2 separate regions of the Homo sapiens genome follow, and region 1 is linked to region 2. The links are contacts of gene promoters, found by promoter capture Hi-C in blood cells and fetal thymus (Javierre and others, 2016). All regions are on one chromosome and are shown on one strand. The core of a region is centred on a gene start or on the middle of the fragment in contact, and the rest is flanking DNA. Distances in the headings are between cores, read along the strand shown. Region 1 has its middle 32 kb from the start of MYB. Region 2 holds the start of HBS1L (HBS1 like translational GTPase).

Region 1 (2,801 bases), core at 151-2,650, 94 kb before region 2:
CCTATGCAACAAATCTGCGTGTTCTACACATGTATCCCAGAACTTAAAGTGTAATTTAAAAAAAAAAAAAAAAAGAAAGAAAAAAGAAAGATACAACCGGGAAATCATGTGTTATTAGAGTCATAGTTCATACCTTAACATCCCACTGTAAGCACAGGATACAAAAAGTCCAGGAAGTCCTGGATAAACTTGCAGAATATCCAGTACCAAATAAGGCATGAACTGAAAAATTCCAAAATTTATTTCCAAGTACTTTTCGCTACTGAATAAAATTAATGGATGCCTAAAAAAAAAAAGAAAATAATAGGTAAGATCTTATTCTGACTAATTTATTGAAAATAGATAATAAATTTTGCATTCTTCTTACAAGTCAAAAGTCTCTTAAAAGTCAAAATCGCTTATGGCAAAGAACAGGAATAGAAGATTATAATCAGACTATAATAAGTTATAGCTATTGCATATAACTATAAAAAATAAAACTACAACTAATGTTACTTTGTCTTAACTGTCCTGGTGAAATTTTAGTCAGTTTTCCAAAGGAAGCAATTTAGATCCCTAGGATGAAGAAAACAGAGTCAAGGAACCAGTTTTAAAATATATATATTTATAGACTGTGAAACCTATACAGTTTGCTGTTCATTCAAGTAAAATAAAACATTTAATTTTAAAAACTGGTGACAGGAAAGGATTTGACCGTGATCATAGATGGTTTAGAATGATAATGTGGAGACATACTTTCTTCCTCCCAGAAACCATTTCAGTTCTTCCTCTTAGCATTTCTACGTCTTATTTGCTTATAAAGCAGAGGTTTTGGGGGTGGGGGCATGGGATTGGGGACGAATGTTCGGATGCTGGGGACCGTCTAACGGCACAAACTGAAGTCAGAGATATTGAACACAGTGTTTAAAGAGGCTGTTATTTCATCATGAGTTTTGTAACTCCATAGAAGACACTTGAGGAAATTAGTAGCTTATACTTACATGTGCATGTTTTCTATTTTCAACAGGATTTTGTAAGAGAGAAAAAACTTTTAAAAATTAAGAGCACACCACTCAGTTGATGTTATACCAGAACGATATGAGGTACCTTGAAGTCATTCAAAAATAACTCTCCCACATAAACCTGTCACCTTGCAGACACTACACTTCCTTTCTTTCATTTAAAAAATTGGCAACTTGTCCTTCTAGGTCAAGTGCTCCATGCCTCTTTCTTCTTCCTTTTTAAGCAGCTAATAGAAAAGAAGGCAGAGTACATTAATAATAGGTGGTATGAAGGATACATTTAAAGACCTGTAGGCATGCATTTGTCAGAGTACTTCGCTTAGAAGCTAAAGGAGGTGCTCTAAGAAGATGAGAGCACGTGTACCTCTTAGAGTAGTAAAGAACTGCTTTACACACACCAGAAGACTGTTTACTAGCACAGGGTATTCGTTTTGTTGTTATGATGCATGCAAATAATTTTTACTTTTCAGGTGCCTCATTCAGTCAACAACTGTTCACCAGTTCCTTCATATTTTTGTTGCTTACTAGAATTAATTTAAGATGCAAACGTAAGAGATTTTAAAACCCTGTAATGCTAATTGTTGCTTTAGGAAAATACAGTTAACTTCTGGTCTCCCTAGCAGTCAAACCCTTCAGATGTTAAGGGTTCACTATTCCCCTGGTCCCCATCTTCATTCTTTAGTGAAAGGTTTAAAAAAATGGGAGTTACTTTCTCCTTGTTTTTGTTTTTCCTTCCATAACATACATTTGGCAATTTGAACCTCTTATCTCTGTAATGTAGAGGAATTGGTTTATAAACAATTCCTGAAATTGACTTTCCTTAATTGTAAGAACAATACGACTTCATTTGAAAATGGTTTTAGCTACAGAATGTAAATACAAATACTCTCCTCATGTCTCTGTTTCCTTCACAGTTTTCCTCATGTTGTCTTCATCTTCTTCTCCCTTTTCTTCTCCTTCATCTTCTCCTCCTTCTCCTTCCTCTCTTCTTCTTTTTCTATTTTACCTATCTGTATTTGGAAGGTATGTACTGCTTTCTGAATTTGTTCTTACGCAAGGATTCTGCTTGTGTTCTTAACTTTATTGCTACCCTACTTTTTTGCTCCACTTTCAACCACTGTTAACCCAATTGACGCCTGACTCAGAAAAAATAGTCACTTTCCCTTCAATGTCATGGGAATTTATTGAGACTTTTCTATATCACGTTATGACTGTCTTGTATACTTACTCATTCATTATCATCAGTGCTAAATATTGGTGATACAGAGATAAATAGTAACAGAGATTCTTGTACTTGAGGAGACCAGTAGTCAGGGAGTTGTTGTTTATAATGAATGTTGATATATTGTGGTCAGTCCTATGCTAACAGTGTGTATCAGGGATCACAGACGAATGAGAAAGGATCACAAATGAAGGACTTCACAGAGGAGGAGATACTGGGTTGGCACTAGTAGAAGCATATGGGAGAGAAACTCAGAACATTTCCCAAAGAGGAACTAGCATGAGGGAACAATATGGAATTATAAAGTGTGTGACCCTATGGAGACAAATCAGATAAAGAAAATGAATGACCAGCTAAGAATGATGCAATGAAAAGGGGTGGAGATTGTAGAGAACTAGAGAACATGCCACATTTCAAGCAAACAGCAATTACTTAGCTTTGACTGTTTGCTGCCATGCAGGATGTGGGCCCAATGTTAGTGAATCTTCCATTTCTTTACAAAAAAAAATTAAAGTTCTTTTTTTTTTAATTAGCTATCTTCTACAGGAAGGAGAGAAAAATAGAAGTTCTGTAAAATG
Region 2 (2,853 bases), core at 304-2,803:
GCCAATAACACAATATTTTTAAGCACCTACTATGATCTGTGATAAATCCTCTTATACGGATACATTATTCACAGCTCGCGAGTTAGTGTCTCTATCTCCTTTTTACAAAGAAACAGGCTGCAAAATAAAAATTACCTAAGGGTGTAAAATAATAAAAACACTTAAGCCATGTAACATTAGCAACTATCTCTATTTTTCTGTAAACTTTTATTTTGGAGCCACATTAAACAACTATTTTTGTAGTCAAACACATTCAAATGCATGAATAAATTACGTTCCAAGCCACTTACAAATATAAACTAAATTTGGATTACTCTTATTTCTTTCTATTGTGCATAGCAAAAAGCTGAGGAAGCTTTTAATTATCTCTAGAACTCAACATTTGCCTTTGATGTGAAGTATCATCATTTCAAAAACACAAGCTAAAACTGAAGTGGTGTTCAGTATAATGAGGTTGGTTTCTTATATAGCATTATTAACTTTATGTTCTGAGAAATGAGGACATTTAATAGCAGGTTATAGATTCATGCATCAACAACATTCAGCATTACCACCTAAGGCCAGTGCTATGTCTAAAAAGCTATATTTAATACTCGCAATGTTACACACAATTATGTCTTCAATGAATGTTCAGTGAATCCTTCTTTATGATGCTGATAAATATCGTCTATATAGCTAAAATCGTTTACATAGCTAAGGGCAAATCGCTGTTTACTAGGGATAGTAATGCCGAACGGAGTGAATACATGAAGTCGTAAATTATATGAATGCAGGGTGACCTAATATAGCCAGGGTCTCAATTTAATAATATATACCCGTTTAAAAATAGCCTTATTTCCTTCTCTAAAGCTTGGACTCTTTTTTTTTTTGAGATAAGGTCTCACTCACTTTGTCGCCCGGGCTGGAATGGAGAGGCCCGATCTCAGCTCACTGCAGCCTCGACCGCCTGGGCTCAGGGGATCCTCCCACCTCAGCCTCTTCAGTAGCTGGGACTACAGGTCTGCACCACAGGGCCGGCTAGTGTTTGTATTTTTTGTAGAGACGGAGCCTCGCTATGTTGCTCAGGCTGGTCTCGAACACCTGAGTTCAAGCGATCCGCCCTCCTAGGCTTCCCAAAGTGCTGGGATTACAGGAAGGAGCCACCGCACCGGCCTGGGCTAAATCTGATTCCAAGTTTACACAAGTTTGTTGAATGCCCACTGTGTGCTTAATGAAAGATCAAAGTTTGATAAAACAAGGTCCCTGCTCTTACTGAGCGCATAGCTTTCTCAGATTATCAGGAACCAAATTTGGAAAATAATCCAGAACGCTGGCGTAGGTAGCTCAAGGTTCCCCGCTTGCAACATTTAGTCCAAACCAGTCAATTCTAGGCGGCGGATTTCCCCATCCCCCTCCGTCGCCCAACCTTTGGGTGGGGCCACTCCCAAACGCTCCCTCCCCTCGTCCCGCCATGCACAGCAGTGCGCATGCGCCCTCAGGGAGGCGGACAGTGACCCTGAGGCATTGCCGTCGCGCGGTGCACAGCTAAGACGTCGCGCTTGCGCAGGCGCTCGGCGCAGAGGCCTGCGGGAAGCCAAGATGGCGCATAGGGGTTCTCCAGGCTGCAGTTGGCGCCTTATCAGTATCTAAGCGGAGTGTTTTGGAAGGAGTTAAGGGGCTGTGGCAAACGCCCTCTCCGCCGTCATGGCCCGGCATCGGAATGTTCGAGGCTATAACTACGATGAAGGTAGGTGGCAGGGTCATGCCGGGACGTTCTTTTCCCGGCTACAGCTGGGATCCTAGCCCGTTGGCATCCACTTCAATCTGTGAGTTTCTCGTCAGTGTTGCCCTGTCGGGATTGGGAGAGCCCCAGTTGGGGAATATAACAGGCCTTCTAGTGCTTTCAAATGCCGTCGTTTTTAAGTCATGATTTCTGCCCTCTGGGGTTGATTTTATTTGGGGAGGGGGAGGTGCTGCATAGCGTCATATGGGTAGGATATTGGTGAGGTTGAGATCCGGTGATATTTAGGCACGTAAGCATTATCACCTCTTCCATTGTTTCCTCCCATGTTGGGCACTAACGTGCCTGCTTCTAGCTCCTCTCTCCCAGATCCCCTTTGAGAAATGTCCATGAAACGTTGCTTATTTGTAAAACACAGATTGACTTAATACATTCAACGGACGTGTACCTGTGTTAGATTTACATGGTAAACCTTTTGTGTATGTCCATACATACCTAGTGCAGAATCAGTTTGCGCTAATTTATTTTTCAACGAATTTCAAAGTGGAAACTTAGGAGACGGTAGAAAAGACACATGTTAAAAAGGCCCAAAGAATGAGTCGATCAGATGGATCTTGAAGTTTATACTTAGTTCTTGGCTGGTAATGCTTGATATAAATGTATTTTGAAATGTAAATAAACGGCAGTACTAGAGGAAAGAGTGTATAGGAAAGGACTTTTTGATATTAAAAAATGAAATAAAAATGTCTGTATGAATGTTCTGTAGGAGTTAACAGGAGTTAGAATTATTTTTAGGAGGAGCACATCCCTCTTCATGCAGTAGATAACTATAGGCATCACCAAGCATCACATAAACTAAAAATATAAACAAAAATGAACTAATGCAGGAGAAGAATAAAGAACTATGCTTTACGAAGTGCAGAACATGTAGTGCTTAATATGTTGGTGATTGTCATTGGCACCCCAGTAGATTATTATAGAACATCAGTATGCTTTAACTAGAGTGAGGGCAGCTAACACCCTGTTCTCCATTTGGAACCTGTGACCTCAGTCCGTCTAGAACATGTGAATTTTCTGGTGGTTACTTTAGAATGGAGGCCCTTTTAAATAAATATTGCAGTGGATGGTATTGC

Evidence for each region. The method cuts DNA at HindIII sites, captures the fragments that hold promoters and counts their contacts. A CHiCAGO score of 5 or more calls a contact.
Region 1: a fragment that was not itself captured here is called in contact with the fragment with the promoter of HBS1L in region 2 in 3 of 17 cell types (activated CD4 T cells, erythroblasts and non-activated CD4 T cells); the score reaches 8.7 in activated CD4 T cells.

The regions. Positions count from the first base shown.
Region 1 is chr6:135,147,621-135,150,421 of GRCh38, reverse strand. No RefSeq gene overlaps it. Among named protein-coding and RNA genes, the nearest start is that of MYB, 32 kb to the left of the region's middle. The HindIII fragment of the contact is 7,399 bases long and covers 1-2,801 here.
Region 2 is chr6:135,053,522-135,056,374 of GRCh38, reverse strand. HBS1L (HBS1 like translational GTPase) reads left to right here and starts at 1,553. Exons shown (of 18, transcript NM_006620.4): 1 at 1,553-1,726. The coding sequence starts at 1,684. LOC124901405 (a long non-coding RNA gene) reads right to left here and starts at 1,482. Exons shown (of 2, transcript XR_007059775.1): 1 at 889-1,482. RefSeq lists an enhancer at 1,345-1,394. The HindIII fragment of the contact is 2,164 bases long and covers 852-2,853 here.